Linked DNA regions of Homo sapiens: regions 1, 2, 3 and 5 are each linked to region 4. Evidence: promoter capture Hi-C in 16 types of primary human blood cells and fetal thymus (Javierre and others, 2016). All regions are on one chromosome and are shown on one strand. The core of a region is centred on a gene start or on the middle of the fragment in contact, and the rest is flanking DNA. Distances in the headings are between cores, read along the strand shown.

What was found. Contacts are between HindIII fragments. The CHiCAGO score rates a contact against its expected background, and 5 or more counts as called.
Region 1: a contact is called between a fragment that was not itself captured here and the fragment with the promoter of ANKRD63 in region 4, in 16 of 17 cell types (activated CD4 T cells, naive CD8 T cells, total CD8 T cells and 13 more). The highest score is 69.9, in activated CD4 T cells.
Region 2: a fragment that was not itself captured here is called in contact with the fragment with the promoter of ANKRD63 in region 4 in 2 of 17 cell types (M0 macrophages and naive B cells); the score reaches 5.6 in M0 macrophages.
Region 3: a contact is called between a fragment that was not itself captured here and the fragment with the promoter of ANKRD63 in region 4, in 7 of 17 cell types (M0 macrophages, activated CD4 T cells, naive B cells and 4 more). The highest score is 10.9, in M0 macrophages.
Region 5: a contact is called between a fragment that was not itself captured here and the fragment with the promoter of ANKRD63 in region 4, in 4 of 17 cell types (M0 macrophages, total CD4 T cells, activated CD4 T cells and 1 more). The highest score is 6.5, in M0 macrophages.

What each region holds. Positions count from the first base shown.
Region 1 is chr15:40,045,145-40,049,737 of GRCh38, forward strand. It overlaps SRP14-DT (SRP14 divergent transcript), which reads left to right. Exons shown (of 3, transcript NR_040060.1): 2 at 817-925. Among named protein-coding and RNA genes, the nearest start is that of SRP14-DT, 8.1 kb to the left of the region's middle. RefSeq lists enhancers at 2,230-2,359, 2,700-2,829. The HindIII fragment of the contact is 1,104 bases long and covers 956-2,059 here.
Region 2 is chr15:40,140,924-40,145,212 of GRCh38, forward strand. No RefSeq gene overlaps it. Among named protein-coding and RNA genes, the nearest start is that of BUB1B, 18 kb to the right of the region's middle. The HindIII fragment of the contact is 311 bases long and covers 1,851-2,161 here.
Region 3 is chr15:40,100,172-40,104,453 of GRCh38, forward strand. It overlaps BMF (Bcl2 modifying factor), which reads right to left. Exons shown (of 5, transcript NM_001003940.2): 4 at 4,009-4,169. Among named protein-coding and RNA genes, the nearest start is that of BMF, 6.6 kb to the right of the region's middle. RefSeq lists enhancers at 3,066-3,630, 3,631-4,196. The HindIII fragment of the contact is 2,587 bases long and covers 1,465-4,051 here.
Region 4 is chr15:40,280,957-40,285,082 of GRCh38, forward strand. ANKRD63 (ankyrin repeat domain 63) reads right to left here and starts at 2,108. Exons shown (of 1, transcript NM_001190479.3): 1 at 1-2,108. The coding sequence starts at 1,630. The coding sequence ends at 488. It also overlaps a transcript of PLCB2 not described here. RefSeq lists silencers at 1,590-1,859, 1,870-1,929, 2,000-2,069. The HindIII fragment of the contact is 15,046 bases long and covers 1-4,126 here.
Region 5 is chr15:40,430,175-40,434,374 of GRCh38, forward strand. It overlaps a transcript of IVD not described here. Among named protein-coding and RNA genes, the nearest start is that of BAHD1, 8.7 kb to the right of the region's middle. The HindIII fragment of the contact is 2,091 bases long and covers 873-2,963 here.

The DNA of each region.
Region 1 (4,593 bases), core at 258-2,757, 240 kb before region 4:
GAGCCCACAAGTGTCAGTGATTAACACTGGCCTTCCCCTCGCTCGCAGCAACGCCACCACGCCCTCCCTCCACGCGCCATCGCAGAGATGAGGAGTGGCCTCGACCTGCCTGTGACTCGTCTTGGGCCAGTAGGGGACGCCCTGGCCTCACCAGACGAGCGCAGCCATGGGCGACCGCCTCAGCCACTCCCAGATCTTGCCCTGTCGTTTACCTTAGATCAACCCTAAGAATATCCAAGATCGTGGTCATTATTTTTCAAAATTACTTCTGTGGAGGCTAGAACTTTCCGTGTTACAGAAAGATTATCATTCATCCATTCACTGAACAAGGCTAAACAAGCAGTGTTTGGCACTGTTCTAGGTGCAAGAAGCTGACTGACTTCTCCACTAGAGAAGAGACTATTTTTTTCTCAGATAATAGCTTGCTTATATTTATTGAGAAGTTACTAAGTGCCAGGTTCATTTCTAGGTGCTTACATGTATCCACTTTTGAGCCCCCAATAGTCCTGTGAGGTGAGCGTTGTTCTAGCTGAGGAGCCTGCCACCTCTGTGCGAAGAAGCACTTGCAAATGAGTGTAGCCTGCGGGCAGCTCAGGAGTGCTGAGCTTTCAGCTGTCTTTCAGCTGTCCAAAGAGGTGACAAGAAGGGAGGGAAGGCAGAAAAGAGACCAGCTCTAGGCAGAGTGGAACAAACTGGGACTCTCTCTCCACTCCTCATCTTTCCCTCCCTCTGGGTGTGGGTTCCTATCCCAAGCCCCTGTCCCCCTCCCACTCCCATGCAGAATCCTGTCTCCTTAATCCTGTCTTTGGATTCCAGGTCCAACTTGGCATTTCTTGGCTGTATCTCTGAAGGAAAGTCATCTTAATCTCTATGAGCCTCCATTTCCTCAGCTGTAAAATGGGAAGATCTTCCTCACACTGCTGTGGTGAGTTCAGTGTGACAATGTGAATATAAAAGCTTATACGTGAGAAAGCATGGCAGAAAAGCTAGGTTTCATTGTTCTTTTCCTCTCCTTCTCAAGCAGTACCCTGAGTAGAAATATTCGGTCGTGCAAAACACCCCTCCCTCCCTCCCCATCAAAATCCCAGTCTCTCACTAAGCTCAGCTAGCTGTGTGGAGGCAACCCATCTGGTAGCTAAATCACACGAACATGTTCAGGACAAATGGTTAGTATGTCACACGCCCTCCATTTGTGGAGGAAACTTAGGTGATGTTAAACAAAGAACAGACTCTAATGGTGGGATTTCTGGTATAGGGGCTTTGGGGAGATACAAAGGAATTGCCAGTACCCTCTAGGCTACACTCCATGGGCAGCCCCTGGCCCCACATGCCTGGAAGGCCATCCTTGTACAGAATCAGGTGGTGGCACTCAAGAAATGTGTGTGAACTTTAAGAGGTTCTCCCCTTCTCATCTAGGATTTCCTTCCTTGCTGAACCTCAAGAAGGGGGCCAGCATACCCCATATTGTAAGAGGGGAAACTGAGGCCAGGAAAGGCAAGCATAGTTATTGCAAGCGTAGTTATTCCCAGCCAGGCTGGAAGTCTGGGGCATGAGCACCTATTCCTGCCCTCCTCCTCCCCACACTTTCATGGGTTTAGTGGGTGGGGGAGGGGCTCCCTTATTCAGGATGATTAGGGGTCCCCAATTTAAAGTTTCCTGTCTGAAAGTCAAGGACAGGAAATTATATAGCCAGAGTTCTGCACAAATTACCCAACAGGTGTCTCGACTCCCCAAAGCGACAGATGCTGTTCATCTCTTGGCCTCTGTGTCATCATTCATCCTTGATTGTTCGGGGAAGCCCACTCCACCTCTGTGACAGACCCACAGATGCAGATTTACACAGGGAATCCTAGACAGACACAATGAAGAAACTCCCATCTGATCAGAGCCAAGTCCCAGTAATAACATCAATGAATCATTGACTTCAGTGAGTCACAATATTGAGCTGGAAGAGGCCTCCAAGACCTTTTTAGTCCAACCCTTTACCTGCTAGTTATTCACAAGTGAATAGAAACTGAGTGAGGTCCAAAGAGGGAAAATGACTTGACCAAGATCACAAAGCTTGGTAATGCCAAAGGTGAGACTGGAAGCCCCGAGCCCTGAGCCCCAGGCCCATGCACTTTCCACACACCCCTCTGCCTGCCACAAACTAGCTGGCACAGAGAGCAGGAGGGAGGGCATAGGCCCCTCATGACTTAGCCAAGGGCAGCTCAGTGTCTCCATGCAGGTGGACTCCGTGTGTCAGCTTCAGCCCTCCCTTGGGAAGGGAAGGGCCTGGGGCCGTCCTCACACCCCAGGCGCCAGGCCACGGAGCTATAGGAGGCAGCTTCCTGCTTGGCCCTTATCCAAGGCCATTTCACAATGGGGGGAAAAGCGCTGAGCTGAGAGTCCCGGGTTGCTGCTCACTCCACCCCCACTCCAGCCCCTTTCAGACCCCCCAGGGACAACGAGCCAGGCCCGGCCTGAGGCTTGGGGTGAAGAGAGCTGCAAGAATGGAGACAGGCTGAACAGCCCCTTTTGGGAGTGTTCTATGAGCTGTGTCCCTGGAACTGGACGAGGGCACCACCTTGCATATTACCAGCACTATCCCCCTTCCCTTGCCGTCCACCTGCAAGCATTCAGGCTGGGGAAGTCCCTTCTGGGACAGGAGTGGTCGCTTCCAGTCAGCCCCATAGCACTCTCATGATTAGTCAGAGGGGAACCTGGAGGCAAGAAGGCCCACAAGCTGGGAGACGGCAAGGCCTGGGTCACTTCCTGCAGTGAGGCAACGTGACTACCAGGCAGAGGAGCCCAAATGTCTCCTCCCAAGATGCTACAGGGTCTGGGGTGAACTGTGGCTCAGCTGACTGAAATTCAGGCAGGAACCAAGACAGAGACACTGAGACGGGACATTCAGCCAGGATTTATTATGCCCTTACACACAGGGTCGGCTCTGAGCTCAGCTCTGTAAGGGATCTCGTTTGAAGTAGGAGGCAGTGGTTAAGGACCCAAATCATCCTGTCTTCAAGTCTTGAAGAGGAGACAAAACAAACCTAGGTGAAATGTCAAACCACAAGACAAGGCAGTGTGAAATGAGGGCCCACACTCTCATGCTGGACAGTCCAGTATGGCCAGTGAAGCGGGGGTGGGGAGGGAGTCACTGCAGACAAAGCTTCGGGGAAGAGATGGAACCGAGAATGATGGGGAGAACTTGACTCTGCAGACAGGATGGGAAAGATCTTTCAGACAGGGAAAGGAAGACAAGGCAGAAATCAACCTGCATACGTGAGGACAGGACCCTGTTTGCACCAGGGGTGGTCAGCCACGAGGCTGGAAATGTGCCTGGCCACAGGGCACTTCCTCACTCTGAGCTCTTGCTACTTGAACACAGCCTTCCTTGGTATCCGTGGGAAGTTGCTGGCCTACTGAGGCAGGATACCACACGGAGAACTAGGCAGGGGCGTGGAGGTGTCAAGGAACTCAGCCCCTTGGTGGAGGAGCCCTCTGACAACAGGAAGCAGCTGCAACGGGCTCCAGGGCTGTACTGGTATCTGCAACTCTCCCCCTACCCTGGCTGCACCCTGCAGAACAAACTGTTCTTCAAGAAGTTCTGGGGACAGAGGGCCCACACCTGCTCCCAGGTCGGGGTGGATAAACCCCCATCAGCCAGGCTGGGAGCCCAGCAGAGACATCACACAGCTCAGCAGCCCTCCTCACCCCCTGGCCCCCTGCCTCCTCCTACCCCAGACCAGGTTGCAGTTGACTAGGGCAATATAACACAAAACAAGAGCTTTATATTATTATTATTATTATTATTATTTTATAGAGACTGGGGTCTCACCATGTTGCCCAGGCTGGTCTCAAACTCCTGGTCTCAAGTGACCCTCCTGTCTCAGCCTCCCAAAGTGCTGAGATTACAGACATGAGCCATGTTACCCAGCCAAGAGCTTTGGAGAGGGAAATGAGAACTGAATCTTCATAAATACCTCATCCTGGAACTTCCAACAATGTCTCCAAAAATAGTACCTAAACTCCAGGCCTCAAACTCTAAATTGAGTGGGGATGTGAAGTGGTTGTGGCCTTACAGAAACAGCACTGGAGTGGCAGCCGAAGTGCTGAGTTCTAATCTGAATTCTGCCACTCATTGGCGTGGGACCTTGGACAAGTCACTTTTTGCCGGACTTGAGTTTCTTCCTCTGTAACTTGGGGAGTTGGGATTGAGCTGTAAAGTCCCTTCCAGTTTTAAATGTGAGACTCCAATGCTGTCAGGTAACTTTGGGATTGCTGTAATGACTGTTTGGGGGCTAGTATAGCTGGGAAAGAAATTAGGATGAGAATCCAATTGAGGGCAAGATAAAATGGAATTGTATTCTATTCAGAACTTGAAATAGGATGGGATTTTGTTTTCCCCAGATCCTCACCATAAAGAGATTTGGGAGAAAATCTTGGGAGATTTGGACTCAGAATATCTTAAGAGGTAGTATTCTAGAAGATTGCCCAACACTTGGTGGGGAAGAGCAAGAATTCTTCCAGATTGCTTGACAAGCAGAACATGGGGAGTGGGTCACAGTAATACCAGGAAAGACACATCCCATCCTCCCAACCCTCTTTTCC
Region 2 (4,289 bases), core at 756-3,255, 140 kb before region 4:
TATACATATGTAACAAACCTGCACGTTGTGCACATGTACCCTAAAACTTAAAGTATAATAATAATAAATAAATAAATACATAAATAAATAAAAATTTAAAAATTAAAAATAAAATAAAATAAAATAAGAGTACTTCCCACTGGCCTTGCGCGGTGGCTCACGCCTGTAATCCCAGCACTTTGGGAGGCTGAGGCAGGCGGATCACGAGGTCAGGAGATCGAGACCATCCTGGCTAATACGGTGAAACCCCGTCTCTACTAAAAATACAAAAAATTCGCCAGGCGTGGTGGTGGGCGCCTGTAGTCCCAGCTACTCGGGAGGCTGAGGCAGGAGAATGGCGTGAACCCAGGAGGCAGAGCTTGCAGTGAGCTGAGATCGCACCACTGCACTCCAGCCTGGGCGACAGAGCGAGACTCCGTCTCAAAAAAACAAAAAAGAAAGAGTACTTCCCACAAACCTACTTGCTGTGGTTTGAATGTTTCTCCAAAGCTCACGAAATTCAGTTGCCATTGTAACAGTCTTACGAGGTAGGACCTTTAAGAGGTGATTAGGCCATGGGGGTTCCAACCTCATGGGTAGAACTGGTGCCATTATAAAAGGGCAAGTTTGACCCACTCTTGCTTTCTCTTGCCCCTCCGCCTTCCTCCATATAATGATGCAGCAAGAAGGCCCTTGCCAAGTGCCAGCGCCTTCATCTTAGACTTCCCAGACTCCAGAACTGTCAGAAAGTTAACTTTGGTTCTTCATCAGTGACCCAGTCTGTGGTACTTTATTATAGCAGCACAAATGGTCCAAGATATTGACTCTCCTCAGTCTTTCCATCTGAGTAAGAAAACTCCATCCTTCTGCTTGTTCAGACCACAACTTTAGAGTCATCCTCTTCTTTCCCTATACTTTACATATCATCTGTCAATAAACGCTGCTGTCTCTGCCTTCAAAATGTACTCAGACTCACCACTCCACCATGGCCACACCAATCTAAGCTACCACCATCCCTTCCCTGGATTGTTGCAATAACTGATCCCTCTATTGCTTCCCTTGCCTCTTACAGACTATTTTCATCCCGGCAGCCACAGTGCTCCTGTTAAAACCCATACAAGACCCTGTCATTCTTCTGCTCAAAAGCCATCACTTCCCATCTTATGCAAAGTAAAAGCCAATCTTTCCAGTGGCCTGTGAGATTGAGCATGAACTGACTCCTGGTCACCTCTCCAGCTTCATCTCTTCTTCCTGTTTTCACTCATTCTGCTCCAGACACATTGACCTCCTTACTGCTCCTCTAACATCTGGGAGAGCTCCGCTTCTGGTTAGGATGTAGAAATATATGAAAAGCCTTTGCTACAATGCTATCAACAAGAAAAACCTAGACAAAAATAAAAATCGTGCTTTTCTACTGAGCAGTGCAGGCATGGCCTTGATGAGTTGAATTCCACAAAGAAACAAGCCCTTTATAGATGAGCAGAAGGTCAGCACAGCTTTCACACCTGAGGATGTGCCTGGTCTGGCTACAGGTGGATGGAGAAACATGCCATAGGCAGGGGTTTTGTAAGGATAAGAAGAAATCAGCGAGCTGCGGCATGGGCTGGCAAGACAGATGACAATCTGGAAGAGGCCCAATATAAAAGCAGGTCATTTAGGCCGATAATTCTCTGTTCTCCACCCACCCCCATTCCTGAACTTTGCCACAACTGTGGCACTGGAGAAGGGGCTGGAAAGCAGAGAGTAATGACACGGTCCTGCTTAGATTCTGGGGCCCTGCTGGAGTAGAGTCCAAAGTTGAATCAAAATGATCTGAATCTGTACGCTACCCCCACCCAGCTCAATTACTGACAACTTGAAAAGGAGGCAGAAGCTTGGGATTGGGCTACTTACAGGTGAACACAATCTAATTAAAGCTGCAGTGCAGCCTTACCTCAATTCCACTGTCCGAGGAGTCCCAGTGATCAGCTTCAACCTAACCACCAGACAGGGGAAAGGAACTGCAATTTCTGAGAAGTAAACAAAAAGATATATTTTCATTTCTACTGTTCTTTTATACAAAATTTCTGGAATACAGTTTTGAGAAACAGGAGAGTAAGGAAAAGAAGCATGTGATCCATAATCAAGAGAAAATAGAGAAGCAGATCCACACATGATCCAGTTATTGGAGTTAGCAGACAAAAGCTTTAAAACGATTAATATGAATATGTTAAAGTTCACAGGAAAAGATAGCTATGATGGTTGAAGAGAGGGTTATTTTAGTAAAGAAATGTAAACTCTAAAAAAGAACCAAATGGAAATTCTACAACTAAATATATATATATATATGAACTAAATATATATATATATATATATATATATATATATATATATAAAATTCATTGGATGAGCTTAATAGCAAATTGGACACCACAGAAAAAGCATCAATGAACTTAAAGACAAGCCAATCAAAAGTATCCAAACTGATAAAAAGAGAGAAAAAAATTAATGACCACAGTACAGTGACCTGTGGGATAACAGCAGCTGTCCTAAGATTTGTGTAATTGCAGTCTCAGAAAGAGAACAAATAGCACCAATTGTTTTTCTACAGGAAGAAATAATAGTGAAAAATTTAAAATGTAACAAAAAGGATCAACCTACAGATTTAAACTAATTTTTTTTTTTTTTTTGAGACAGAGTCTCACTCTGTCAGCCAGGCTGGAGTGCAGTGGCGCAATCTCAGTTCAATGCAACCTCCACCTCCCATGTTCAAGCGATTCTCCTGTCTGAGCCTCCCAAGTAGCTGGGACTACAGGTGTGCGCCACCATGTCCAGCTAATTTTTGTATCTCTAGTAGAGACGGGGTTTCACCACGTTGGCAAGGCTGGTCTCGAACTCCTGACCTCAAGTGATCTGCCCACCTTGGCCTCCCAAAGTGCTGGGATTACAGACATGAGCCACCGCACCTGGCAGACCTACAGATTTTAAAAGGTCGTCAAACCCCAAGTGGGGTAAATACAAAGAAAAACACATCTAGACACATCACAGTCAAGTTGTTGAACCAAAGATAAAATGAAAATCTTAAAAGCAGCCAGAGAAAAAAGGAACATTACAATGATAAAAATGATGCCTAACTTCTCTTTAAAAACAATGCAAACCAGAAGACAATAAAATGACATACATGAAAAGAAAACCAGAAAATATAGAATTCTCTGTCCAAGAAAAATAGCTTTCACAAATGAAACAGAAATAAAGATATGTTTAGATAAACAACAGCTAAGGGAAATAATTTTCAACAGACATGTACTTCAAGAAATACTAAAAAAGCTGGGTGCAATTGTAGTCCCAGCTACTGGGAAGGCTGTGGCAGGAGGATCACTTGAGCCTAGAAGTTCAAGATCAACTTGGGCAACGTAGGGAGACTCCATCACAAGAAACAAGCAAGCAAAAAAAAAAAAAAGAAAGAAAGAGAGAGAGAGAGAAAAGAAAGAAGAAAGGAAGGAAGGAAGGAAAGAAAGAAAGAAAGAAAAAAGAAAGAAAGAAAAGAAAGAAAGAAAGAAAGAAAGAAAGAAAGAAAGAAAGAAAGAAAGAAAGAAAAAGAGAAAAGAAAGAAATACTAAAGGGAGTTCTTCAGGCTAGTGAGAAAAGATAGCATGATAGCAGTTGGAGGCTCAGATCTACCAGAAGGAATGAAGAGCATTGCAAATGGTAAGTATGTGGGTAAATATAGAAGACTATTTTAATTTATTTTGAATGACAATTGGCTTTTAAAAACACAAATAACAACCATATATTATGGGACTTATTACATGCACACAAGTAGAATAGATAATAGTCAAAGGATGGAAGGGGCAAATGGAAGTAAAATGGAATTTTCTTAAATTATTTGTGAAGTGGTATAATGTAGACCCAAAATAAACTCTAACAAGTTAAAGATGCACACTATGATCCCTAGAGCAATTATTAAAAATAAAACAAAGAGGTATAGCTAAAAAGCTACTAGAGGCTGCATGTGGTGGCTCACGCTTATAATCCCAGCACTTTGGGACGCTGAGGTGAGAGGGCTGCTTGAGGCCAGGAGTACGAGACCAGCCTGGATAACACAGCAAGACCCAGTCTCTACAAAAAATAAAAAATAAACTAGTCAGGCATGGTGGTGTATTCCTGTAGTCCCAGCTACTTGGGAGGCTGAGGCAAGAGGATTGCTTGAGCCCAGGAGGTTGAGGCTGCCGTGACCCGTGATTGTGCCACTGCACTCCAGCCTAGGTAAGAGATCAAGATGCTGTCTCTCTCTCACACGCACGCACACACACACACACACACACACACAA
Region 3 (4,282 bases), core at 1,508-4,007, 180 kb before region 4:
CACTGGGACAGAAGACTCTCCCAAGGGGAGGGGATACCACTTCCTGCCCCTCCTTAGGCTCGTGCTGAATGAGGCCATGGCACAAGGACAGGAAAGCTGGGGCTCAGACCTTCTGGCCAGGGCAGCCCAGGGGCTCAGGGAGGAAGTACATCTGCACCATGCTCTTCCATGCAGAAGCTGGACACAGAAGCACCACAGCACCACCCTCAAGATAAGTCATTATCAGCAGACCATCGGGGGTCCCTGCCACAGTTTGTCAGCTCACAGAGGAGCAAACAGGGGAACCTTCACTCCTGCCCCGGCCAAAGGAAGGTGGGATGTGTGGTGAGGTTCTGAAAGGTTTTTACCTCCACTCACTCTGCCTCCAACTCTCTTGCTGCTTTGGAGACACAAAGAGCTGAGGCGGAGCACCCTGCTAACTCTGATCTTCTGCCTCCGGTTTTTTGCCTGTGGATCTGGAAGAGTCACCCTGAACTGGTAACTCGGGTGACCAGGCTAGTCCTCCACCTAGCAAGGCTCTTGGGAAATGCGCTGAAAGTGCAGATGGCCCACGTAAAACGACACCCAGGGAAACTTGGAACCTGTTGCATCTGGAGCCAGGTCGATACACTCAATTGGGATTTCATGGCATCAGCACGCCCCCTCCCTCTGCTCCATACCTCCAAGGGAGAAGGTCGTTCTGGTGCAAAAAAACGAGTAACTCAGGTCTGTAACCAGGGACAAAAAGGGGGAGTGCACACTCTCCACAGGACTATGGACCAGTGGCCACTGTCTAGCCCCAGGACACTATCCCAGATGTAGGGGAAAGGTGACGGTCAGGCCTCCTCAAGTCCCATCTGCCTCTAGGGTTGCTTTTCTTGGCTCTCTAAATCCAGCCCGCAATGATGGGGAATGACTATCATTCCCTGAAGAGAAATCGATAAGGCCAAGGTCCACAGATGATCAGTCTGGACACTAATTCCTCTGGACCAGGCAGGTGGAGGGAAGTTCAGGGGAGGCAGCTCTGCTCAGGGAGTCCCCTGCCAGGTGGAGTGGGAAATGAATTGTGAACCAACAAGAACAAACGTCGGGGGTGATCAGGATCATAAACAGAAAGAAGGAAACAGGCATTAAAGAACATCTACTGTGTGTCCCAAACTCTCATAGGTATTTTCTCACTTAATTATCACAGTAAAATTCTGTGGTATTAGCACTAATTCATAGAAGAGGAAATAGGCTCAGTGAAGTCAAGTGACTTCCTGAAAACTAGTAGATGGCAGAGCTGGTATTCAAACCTGGGCTTTCTGACTCTGAACCCAAAGCCTAGAAACTAAATCCTAAATAACCTCCTTCCCACTGCCTCAGTTTCTCTGCCTGCAAAAATGAGGGAAGGGAATAGGGAAAGAAGATAAAGGATAAGAATGGAGGAGTGACAACAGTACTTTCTAGATATGAAATCTTAGACTGTAGTTTATATAAGAATCAAGCTTAGAAAATGACTCACTTCTCAAAACCAGCTGCTGAAACGTTCCAGGAGTACCAGTGTTCCACCTGCCTGAAGCCATCACCTTAGCCCTTCCTGCAGGATGAGTTCCTGGTGAAGGTCTATAAGTAGGGTCAGTGGGGAGGAGGGGGTTAAAAGCAAGAAGACTCTGGGGAGAACTGTTTAAGGAGAAGACAAAACCCTGGCTCTTTGTACTGGAAAATTTGGGAAAACCAGCTCTTTGAGCTAGAAAAGGCTCACTGGTCAGCCTCCTACCCTTGTAAGTAAGAAGTAGGTAGATGGCAGGAGGGTAGGGGTACAGGAAACCTGGGAGCCAGTGTGGAGTAAGGTGCAAGGCAGAGGAGACTCTCATGCCTTGCACCTCCACTTTCCTTCTCCCCAGCTTGGGTGGCTCTGGCTAAAAGCACAACACCTTGTCTAAAACTAACCTGTGCATGCAAAGAGGCAGCTCTGAACTGGGAGAAGTGATGCCAACCAGCAAAAAGCAGGGCAAGGCAGGCGCAGTGGCTCACGCCTGTAGTCCCAGCACTTTGGGAGGCCGAGGCAGGTGGATCATCTGAGGTCAGGAGTTCGAGACCAGCCTGGCTGACATGGCGAAACCCCGTCTCCACTAAAAGTACAAAAATTAGCCAGGTGTGGTGGTGCGTGCCTATAATCCCAGCTACTCGGGAGGCTGAGGCAGGAGAATCGCTTGAACTGGGGAGGCAGAGGTTGCAGTGAGCCGAGATCATGCCACTGCACTCCAGCCTGGGCGAAAGAGCCAAAAAAAAAAAAAAAAAAAAAAATCAGGGCCAGACCTTGGGATAAGGGCCTCCTCCTCCTCCTGTTCAGGACCAAGTTAGGAGGGCCCCCAGGACTGTATCCTAGTCCTGTGCCAGGGAGGGCTCCCGGCCTATTCCCAAGCCTATAGAGGCTCACCAGTGGATGGGGGAATATTCTGGGGAATAACTGGTGAAAGAGATCAGATTATTGCAAATGAAGCAAGCTGCCTTCCACGGAGCCCGCTAGATGAGTCTAAAAGAGCCACAGCCACTGTGTCCTCCCATCCTCTCCAGTACCAGGACTGGAAGCTGTGAGCTGGGCTCAGCCGTAGGCCTGTACAACCACGGTGGAGTGAATGGGCAGGAAGGAGGCCAAGAAACTGAAAACAAGAATCAGAGTGAGTCCACACATGGACTGAAGGGGAAACTCGAAGCCAAGTTTCCACCAAATAATCAAAGGAGAGAGTAAGAACTGGAGCTTAGATCTATTATCTAAGCATAGGGCCACCCTCCCTTCCTGATCACTAAGGGACTGGGAGGACTTACCAGGCCCAGACCTGGCCCCAAACTGTCCTTAGAACTCCTTGGCAGAGGGCACTAACCATATGTAACCCGCAATGTCCTGTTCTTAGGAAAGCCAAGGTCAATTCCTCTTCCCCTGGCACTGGTAATGGTTTGACCCTTAAGTCAACCTACCAATAGCTCTCCTCCGACCACCTGAAGCTACCCTTCTAACCTCGGAGTCTGCCCAGTCATGGTCAAGCTATTTATTCCCTTGATTTCCTCGCAGTCAGACACACAAACACACATTCAGAGCCAGCTGGGCTGGGGACACAGTCCCAGAAGTACAGAATGTGTTCGCTTCCAGGTGGCATGCCTGTGCTTCAGCTGTGGCTGTACCAGCACGGATGCAGCCTCAGGCTCCTCTCCCAGCCTTGGCAGCCATCCAGAAAGCCAGCCCGAAGAGGAAGGGTTAAGTGCCTGGGGACCCAGCCCAGACAGCGGCTGCTGGAACAGGGAAGGCAGCCTCCAGGCCATGGCACAGAGGGCTCCTCCAGCACGAGCCTGCCAGCCGCCGCCTTTGTTGATGGACTCTGCCACATGCTCGGCTGACACGTGATGCCCCGCCCTGGCGGGGCTGGTGCCAGGCTGCCGGCCAAGCGCCCGGCTGAGCGCCCGGCTGGCCGCCGGTCTGGGGAGCCTCTCCGAGGTACACTCTCCGGAGTCCCAGACCCTGGTTCCCAGACAGAGACAGTGAGGAGCGGCCTCCCCAGCTGGAAAGTGTCAGGTTTCAACCGGTTCCACCACTTTCCCCAACTCAGGCCCCATCCCTTGGCCTGGTTACCCGTTTCCCACTGTACCTTAGCCAGGCACCCCCCAACTGCCCAGTTTCATTGCAGCACCCGGAAAATCTTCCTCTTAGGTCCGTGAGGGGCAACCCCTCAGCCACGGCCATAAGAAGAGACAGGTTGTCAAGCAGAGCTGCAGAAAGCCATCCTATTCCCAGACTGTAGCCTCTCCCGAGAGGGCTCTTATGGAACATGAATTGAGACTGGGCAGTTAACCAATGTGGAGCTCAGAGATGAGGGCAAGATGCTTAGCCAGTTAGGCCCCTCCTGCCCATGGGAACCGCCATAACCAAAACTCTGGGACAATATCCTTGAGGTCTGGCAGAGACAGAGTTGCTGACAAGAGGAGAGAGGCAGGCCCTGGCCCCCAAGCCCCAGCAGACTCAACCCTCCTCCCCTAAACCCCCGTGCCTACTTGCTGCACATGAAGCCGGTGGAACTGGTCTGCAATGCACTGAAGCTTTCGGGCAATCTGTACCTCTGCTTGATGTTGCCACTGCCCTTCGGGGGGCTGCTCCCCAATGGGCAAGACTGCTGGGAAACTGGCAGGGAGAGGAAGCCGATAGCCAGCATTGCCTGCAAAGATAGAGGATCCACATCTCAGCATTCTCCACAACTGCTCCAACCTCCCTACGCCTGCCTGACCTGGCCAAGATTGGAGGCTGAGGGTAAATCCTCATATGAGAAAG
Region 4 (4,126 bases), core at 858-3,357:
TTCTCCCACACTTGGAGGGAAAGGAGACTTTGGTAGTTTGTGGGATTATTGTCAGCATCAGTAGGCAGAAAGTGGGGAGGCTGGGTCCTTATTCTCCAAGGTGGACCCTTCTATTTACCTGGCTGCCCAGTTGTTGGGAAACCCAGCGAGGGGAGGGGGGCCGGACAGGAGCGACAGATGGCTAGGCCGACCCAGGATTGAGCCTGAGGGCTGGGGAGGGGGAATCCACCTTCCTGGCTGTAGCCTACGGAACCAGTCAATCGACACCTCTAGACCTAGGCAGGGAATACCGAGGAGCACAAAAAAGAAGATGGAGGTCCCTTATTTCTGGTGGAGGGCTGGTGGAGGTCTCGCCTTGGCAGGGAGGCAGGTTCCAAAATGGACTGCGGGGGGCGGCTGCCGAAAAGGTGAGGGACCTAGAAGAGAGAAATACCAGTGGAGTAGAAACGGGAGGGTAGGGGAAGCAGGCCTCGGGCCTTGGCGCCGTTTACCGCTGAGCACGCAGCACCACAGCCTCGGTGCCCGCCTGCCAAGGGTTCGGCCCAGGCACCGAGACAGACAGAGCGTTGGCCTCTAACTCCGGGCCACTCTCGGGCCCTGGCGCCTCCCCGACCAGGCTGGGGATATCTGGGGCTGTGGAGCGTCGGCGCAAACCCAGGCGGCCAGAGCCGGGGCCGCCCTCCGGGTGGGGACTGAGGCCAATGGGGGCTTGCGCTAAGGTTGGGGGCGCTCCCTCCAGCACCTCCTGTGAGCGCCACCGCCCAGTCCCCGAAGACTGGGGCGAGTTTGGTAGGGCCATCAGGGCCCCAGCCCGCAGGCGGGCAGCCTCCTCCTCGGTTACCGCACCTAGAGCCAGGCTCATGCTCCGACCCAGCTCGGGCCGTTCGCTGCCCTGCGCCCGGTGCCGGCCCGAATTCTTGCCCGCTGAGCCAGCCTCGCCGCCGTGGCCGCCCGCCGCTCGCGCAAAGCGCGCCAGGAGAGGCCGCGGGAGGCGGCGGGGGCTGGGTCGTCGATGCTCGGGGCTGGCCGCGGGGGCCGGGCGGCCAGGGGGACTATCGGAGTTGGAGCCCCGGGCCGCAGCGGCGGCGGCGGCGCGGCCCCAGGGCCCGGTGAGGGCCTGCACACAGGTCCCGTGGCCGCGGGCGGCGGCCAGTTGCAGCGCGGTGAGCCCCGCACGGTTGGTGCGGTCGAGGCGCAGGCCTAGGCGGCGGAAGGACCGCACCAGGAACTCGAGCACCGCCCCGTGGCCGCAGGCCGCCGCCCACATCACCGGGCTGTTGCCCGCAGAGTCGGCCGCCTCGGGGTCACCGCTGAACTGCACCAGCAGCTGCACGGCGTCCAGGTGGCCTCGCTCGCACGCCAGGCTGAGTGCGGTGCGGCCGCGCTCGTCTCGCAGGTTCACTGCAGCACCCTGCTCGAGCAGCAGCCGCACGAAGCGCGCGCGCAGCGCGGGGTCCGGCAGCCCCACGGCCACCATGAGCGGCGTACGGCCCTGCTCCGCGCGGCAGTCGATGATGCTGCGGTCCAGCGCATCCAACACGAAGCGGGCCAAGTGCACTTTGCCCGCCTGCATGGCCTCCAGGAAGGTGCGCGTCCCCGCTCGGGGGCACAGGTCCTTGGGTTTGAGCATGGCCCCGGCCGCCGCGCCCGGGCAGCCTGGCAGTTCCGCACGGGGGCGCCCCTGTTCTCGCGCCCCGCGGGGCTCCGGCCTCCGCCCGCGCTCTGATACCTCTCCCTCCGCGCGTGGGCGGCTGCAGCCGAGGGTCCCGAGGTTCCTACTCCGCTGTCCCGGAGGCTCCGACTGCCCCGCCGCTCCTGGGCCGCACGCCTGGCGTGTCGCCGCTCCTTCCCCGGGCCTCCCGCCTGGAGGTGTTGATTGCTCGCTACTCCGGGCTCCGCTCCTGGCCCGCCACCAGACGTCGGGAGCAGAGACTCGACCCTCTCCCGAGTCTCTCGCCGCTTTCCCGGTGTCCGGCGCCCCTCAGTCCTCGTGGTTTGGAGCCGCCGTGCCACTCACCCGCACCCAGGGCAGCCCCCGCTCCCCCGCAGCGACGGTGGCGCCCGCCGTGCACGCCTGCCTCCAGCCCTGGCGGGGCGCGCCGCTCCTCAAGCTGCTGGCGCCGTTCCTCCGCCTCCTCCCCTCTCGCGGGGGCCGGGCCACGCCAGGGCGCTTGCTCCTTACTTGGGGGGCTCAGCGGCGCGGGAGCTGCCGCCCGCCTAGATACCTGACTTTATAGCCTTGGGGGTCTCCATGGCAATGGCTGTCCTGGGAGCGGACTGCGCCGTCAGGGCAGAGACGGACGGGGCGGGGGAGACCGCTCCTGACCCCCACCCCTTCGTGGGCCACGAAGTAGGGGAGCGGTTCCTCCTCCGCGCTCCCCTGGGAATGCGGCGGCGGTTGCGGGGCGGGGGCGGGGGCTGCTCGCCGGGGGCCACATGCACCCAACCGGGCCAATCCCAAAGTCGCAGTCTTCTCTCCCCGCCCTCCGCCCCCAACCGAGTCGGTGCCCTCGGCTCCTTAGAAACTGGCGGGACCTCGGCCTCGTCGGGGAAGACTGAAAGCTGCCCCCATCGGTCCAGGGTGAAAGGAATTGGGACCCCATGAGCGCAGAACTGGACCACGCGCGAGCTAGGGGTGGCAGCGAAAGGCGGATGAGGAGTAATTTGGGGGAGGGGGTATACGTGCCGCGGATTGGGGGCGCTCAGCCTGGCTGGGAACTGCCACTCGAAGTGCAGAGAATCACGCACTCACACACAATTGTTCCACCCGCACACGCTCCCTGGGAACGAGGGGTGGGGTCCGAGTGCGCTCTCCAATTTCAGACGTCTCCAACCCCGACAACGCGCCCGCGTGCCAGCTCCTGGTGGCTGCCTAGCGGGCAGAGTGTAGACGCCCAGACCAGGGAGGGGCTCCTTAGGACCCGGGAGTGCCGCGGACATGTTAAAAGTTCCCTGGCGCCGCCACCCTGGAAAGAGCTAGGGACCCACTCGAGGTTCCCTGCCCCTCGCTTCTCCCTTGAGCACAAAACAACCCCCAGGCCACAGGGCTCTGGCTCTGACCACTGGCTGACCCCTAAAGAGAGGAGGCGAGCACAAGTTCCATTTTCCGTAAGATGCTTGGAGAAACCACTGCATCTCCTCTCCCTCCGGCCAGCAGGTCCCCCTCGGTCCTGGAGGAGGGGGGATGATACACAGGCCTGGGCGGAGCAGAGTTAGGGCGCCTCAGAGCCTGGGTGTGGGTGGTGGGGAGGGTGTGAGTAGGGTTGGAATGGATATTTGTAAAGTAAGGAGTAAAGCAGTTATCAGCTGCAGAATTTACTGAGACTTTTCATGAGCCGCACATTTTGTTGCCGGCAGCGGGTAAGAGAGAGACAGAATCTCGGTTCTGGGTGCGAGACGTTCCACCTCTTAAGAAGACAACACTGGGACTTAAAAAATGGACGTTGTCACCTGAGGGCTGAATTCTTCTGCTAAATACGTACCAACACAGTCCTTGGATGAAAAGATGGAGTTGTGGGCAGGAGAGGGCTCTCGGGCCTTTTAAAGATAGGCCTTCAAGGATGTGCGGGATCTGGCTGCAAAAGAAAGAAGGAAGGAATCCCAGGCCGGGTGCAGTGGCTCACGCCTGTAATCCCAGCACTTTGGGAGGCCGAGGCGGGCGGATCACGAGATCAAGGGATCGAGACCATCCTGGCCAACATGGTGAAACCCCGTCTCTACTAAAAATACAAAAATTAGCTGGGCGCGGTGGCACGCGCCTGTAGTCCCTGCTACTTGGGAGGCTGACGCAGGAGAATTGCTTGAACCTGGGAGGCAGAGGTTGCAGTGAGCCGAGATCACGCCACTGCACTCCAGCCTGGAGACAGAGTGAGACTCCGTCAAAAAAAAAAAAAAAAAAAAAAAAAAAAGGAAGTAATTCCAGACGGGTTCTGGAGGCAAAGGCTTGGAAGCAGGATAAACCTTCAGGGGACACTATTGAGGGCTGCTTTAAGGGGTCCCTTCCTATCAGAGACAGGAAATAAGGGAAGAATGATGGTGTTCTCAGTCTGAGCAGATGCTTTGGAGTAGGAGATGCCTGGGGAAAGGTACTGGGCATAGATAGGCGTGGCAAAGTGGGCTCATGGCC
Region 5 (4,200 bases), core at 668-3,167, 150 kb after region 4:
AGGCTTGATTTCTCTGCCATTCATTCATCACTGAGTAGCTGTTACTGAGAACCTATCATGTGCAGGTACCCTGTGGGCCATGGAGAAACAGGAGGACCCAGGGAGACGCAGATGTGGTTTTCACCCTAGCCTAGCCGGGGAGGCAGATCTTAGCCAGGAATCACCGGCTTGCCAGGCTTGCTAGGAGGAGAGCATTGCAGGTTGCGGAGTGTGACTGAGCCCGAGAGATGAGATCAGAGGAGCCTCCTGGCTGGGGCGGCAACAATAGTCAGTTCCAGATTTGGATCTTTATGCTGAGTGTAAGCAGGAGTCACGGAAGGGTTTAAGCAGGAGAGTGCTATGAGGCAGTCTATTTTGGAAAGATCCCTCTGACTGGGGCAGAGTGGATGCGGGAGGCTGGGCTGTGGTTGATCACAGAGGTGGGAGGAGATTCGAGGCTGGAGACTCCAGTAAATGACAGGCTGTGGTGATGGATTAGCTATGGGTGGCGGCTTGGGAGGGAGAGGGAGGTGCCAAGGATGAGTCCAAGGTTCTTGACTCTTAAAACTGCCAGTGCACCCCACAGTGGAAACATTGGGAGAACACTGAGTTTGCTTGTAGTTGGAAGTTGGCTGAAGTGTATCTGATGTTCTTGAAAGACCATATTGATGTTTCAGTGTCAAAGAGAGTGCAGAAGGCAGGGAAAGGGTACTTTTGATAACGGCTTTGCCAAAGGAATATCTTTTTATAAAGAAATATGACAATCGACTTGCAACATTTTGCCCCCAATCTAACAGTGAGATGAATGTTGCTCACAGCAACTTCATGTGTAAAATTTGAATGAGTTGCTAACAGACATTTGGAAAACATAAGAGTAGAGAATTGTTTGGGGAAGCTTATTTAGGAAGAAGTGATGGAGAAATCATTAAAAGTGACAAGGCTGGGATGTAAACCCTGGCTCCACTATTATTACGCTTTTTTTTTTTTTGTCTTTTTTTTTCTTCCTTTTTGTGGAGAACGGGGTCTCGCTTTATTGCCCAGACAGGTCTCGAACTCCTGGGCTCAAGCTATCCTCCCACCTCTGCCTCCCTGAGACCTGGGATTACAGGTGTGAGCCACCGTGCCCAGCCGGCTCCACTATTATTAATGTGACCCTGGGAAGTTACCGAACCTCTCTATGCCTCAGTTTTCTCATTAGTAAAATGAGAATAATAACACTATCTATTTCATAAGACTGGCTGGGGATTAAGAGTATGTGTAGGCCGGGCGCAGTGGCTCACGCCTGTAATCCCAGCACTTTGGGAGGCCGAGGCAGGCAGATCACGAGGTCAGGAGACCGAGACCAGCCTGGCTAACATGGTGAAACCCCGTCTCTACTAAAAATACAAAAAATTAGCTGGGCACAGTGGCGGGCGCCTGTAGTCCCAGCTACTCGGGAGGCTGAGGCAGGAGAATGGTGTGAACTTGGAAGGCAGAGCTTGCAGTGAGCTGAGATCACGCCACTGCACTCCAGCCTGGGCTACAGAGCAAGACTCCATCTCAAAAAAAAAAAAAAGATTATGTGTAAAGAGCTTAACACAGTGCCTAACTCATGGAATCTCTCCAGGAACATTACCTATCACAGAATACACCCTGACAGAGGGAAGCAATGAAAAAGGCAATTGCTGATTTCCCATAATCCCTTTCAACAAAGAAGAGTTGTTGTCTATATAACTAAGTGTAATTTTTATAAATGCCCTTATTAGATTTTTAAATATAGTATAATATTCACAAATCAAGGGGAAAAATTGTCAGGCCTCTCATATCTAAGTCTTTTTTTTTTTTTTTTGAGATAGATTCTCACTCCATCACCCAGGTTGGAGTGCAATAGTTCCATCTTGGCTCACTGCAATCTCCACCCCCCAGGTTCAAGCGATTCTTATGCCTCAGCCTCCTGAGTAGCTGGAACTACAGATGCGTGTCACCACACCTGTAGAGACAGGGTTTTGCCACATTGGCCAGACTGGTCTTGAACTCCTGGCCTCAAGTGATCCGCCCACCTCGGCCCCCCAAAGTGCTGGAATTACAGGTGTGAGCCACTGCGCCTGGCCTATCATATCTAAGTCTTGATGTCACTTTTCCAGTTACTAATCATCTGGCCCAGTCTTGCTTAGGTCATACACTCTTTGATGTGCTCTTCAGTTTCTGAGGATCACGCCTCTGCTGGGTGGAGTAGCTTTCCTAGGTCAGAAGCAATGCTGTCTGCATGGCCTCCCAAGTCTTCTTGGTGCCTGCACAGTGCAGAGCACAGGTGGCACCATGGTTGGTTAACACCATACTTGTGGCCCAGACTGTAGTCCCCCCAGAGGGTGTCTGCTGGAAAGGGCTGGTCCTGGCTCTTGCTGTGGGTTCACTGAGGTTAAGTGAAGATGGCAAAAGAACCACAGGTGATTCTCTCCTCTGCTCTGGGTTTTGCAAGACTAGAGAGGTCAGTGGCTGTGGCTGAGAGCCTGTAGGAGATGGAACTACCTCACCTTGAGGAATGTGCTTAGGGATGCCACAGAGAATCTTTCCCGAAGAGGGAAATGGCTAGGGCCCTGGCCTTGGGAGGATGGAATGGAGAAGCCATGGGAAGAGGGGCTGGCCTCTCCTCCAAACCCAGCAAAGGGAGCCATCCTGCCTGACTGAAGCCAGAGTGGGGCCCACTGCTGGGTGGACAGAATACAGCCACAGGCACTACATTGTCAGAGCTCCAGATGGGAGACAAGGAGTACAAAACAGAGGTGGAAGACTGATTCCAGTATGGAAGCAGGGCAGGCTTCAGGCATGGCCAGATTTGGGCATGATGAAATAGATTCACAATTGCTAATGTTCTGGGGGCACTTGTGGCTACATCAGGTACTATTCTAAGTACTTTATATGTTTTAAGACACTGTAGCGCCAGGACTGTACTCAGAAAGTCTGCATTCTTAACCACTACGCTATGTGAAATGTAGAAAGAAGAAAGCTTTTAGACATATAAAGGGTTAGACCTCTATTTTATATGTTAAATGCCGTATGAAAAAAAAAGCAAAGGTTTTGGAGCCACTCCAAGCCTATGTGATCTTGGGCAGTTACTTAGATTCTCCAGGTCTCAGTTTCCTCATTTGTTTGTAAATTTGAGAGTACATTTACCTACCAGAGTTCTTGAGGGTTAAATAAAGAAACGTATGTTGAGTGCCTGTTCATGCCTTCTGTAAGAGACACCTGCCCCCTCTGGACCTCCTGCCGGCTTTGGAGGCTCTCAATACACTGCCCATTCCAGATCTGGATTTCTTCATCTTCCCAGGGGTCTGTACGTCTGGAATAAAGGAACCAACATAGTGGATGCACCCCTGGTCTTCCAGTCCACAGCACTGGGAGTTCCTCAGGGGAGAAGTCATACTCCAAGTTGATATCTGAGCGGACAAGTGTTCTGGTAACAGTAAAGGAGGTGACCCTGGAAGCTGAGGTCCCAAGCAACCCAAACCTAGATCATCACAGAAATGTCATGTTTCTTGGAATAATTCTCCCCTCTCTGTGTATTTATCCATTCAGTTTCTATTTACCAATTGTTTACTATTCAGTTCACCAAGCATTATTAGGCAACTACTATTTGCCAGGTATCATGCCATGTTCTCAGGAGTCACCTAGAAGAGCCCACAAACTCTGGACCATGTTTAATTTCCCTTTTCGTCTCCAGCCTGGGTCCATGGATCTTGGAGTGTGTTCAGTAAACATCTGCTCCTGGGGCAATAATGAAGGTACTATTAGAGATTGGCATGAGAATGCAACAGGGCTCTCTGAGTAGGTTCCAGTGAACTAGACACTGCAAAGGGCTGCACCACGATACCCATCCATGTCTCTGTGGCCACAGTGCAGGGCAAGGATCACACACCTGAAAACCTTCAGGGTTCAGGTCCCGTAAATGCCCCACATGGGCAAGGTGGGAGTATGGTAAACTGGAGCATGCCTACCCCATACAGACTGCATTTGCTACTTAGTACCAACCTACTGTTGCAAGTGAAAATGTGCGCCAGGGGTAGCAAATCTTCTGATTTTTTTCAAGAGAAACTGTAAACCTGGATTTTTATTTTGAATCTCCAAAAATTTCAGCATTGGCCCCTAATTTTAATCTTTTTTGAAAGCCCCATAGACAGTTAAATGGAACTTGTCTGCCTGCTTACTTTTGCTCAAAGGCTATTAGTTTGGGAGCCCTAAGTG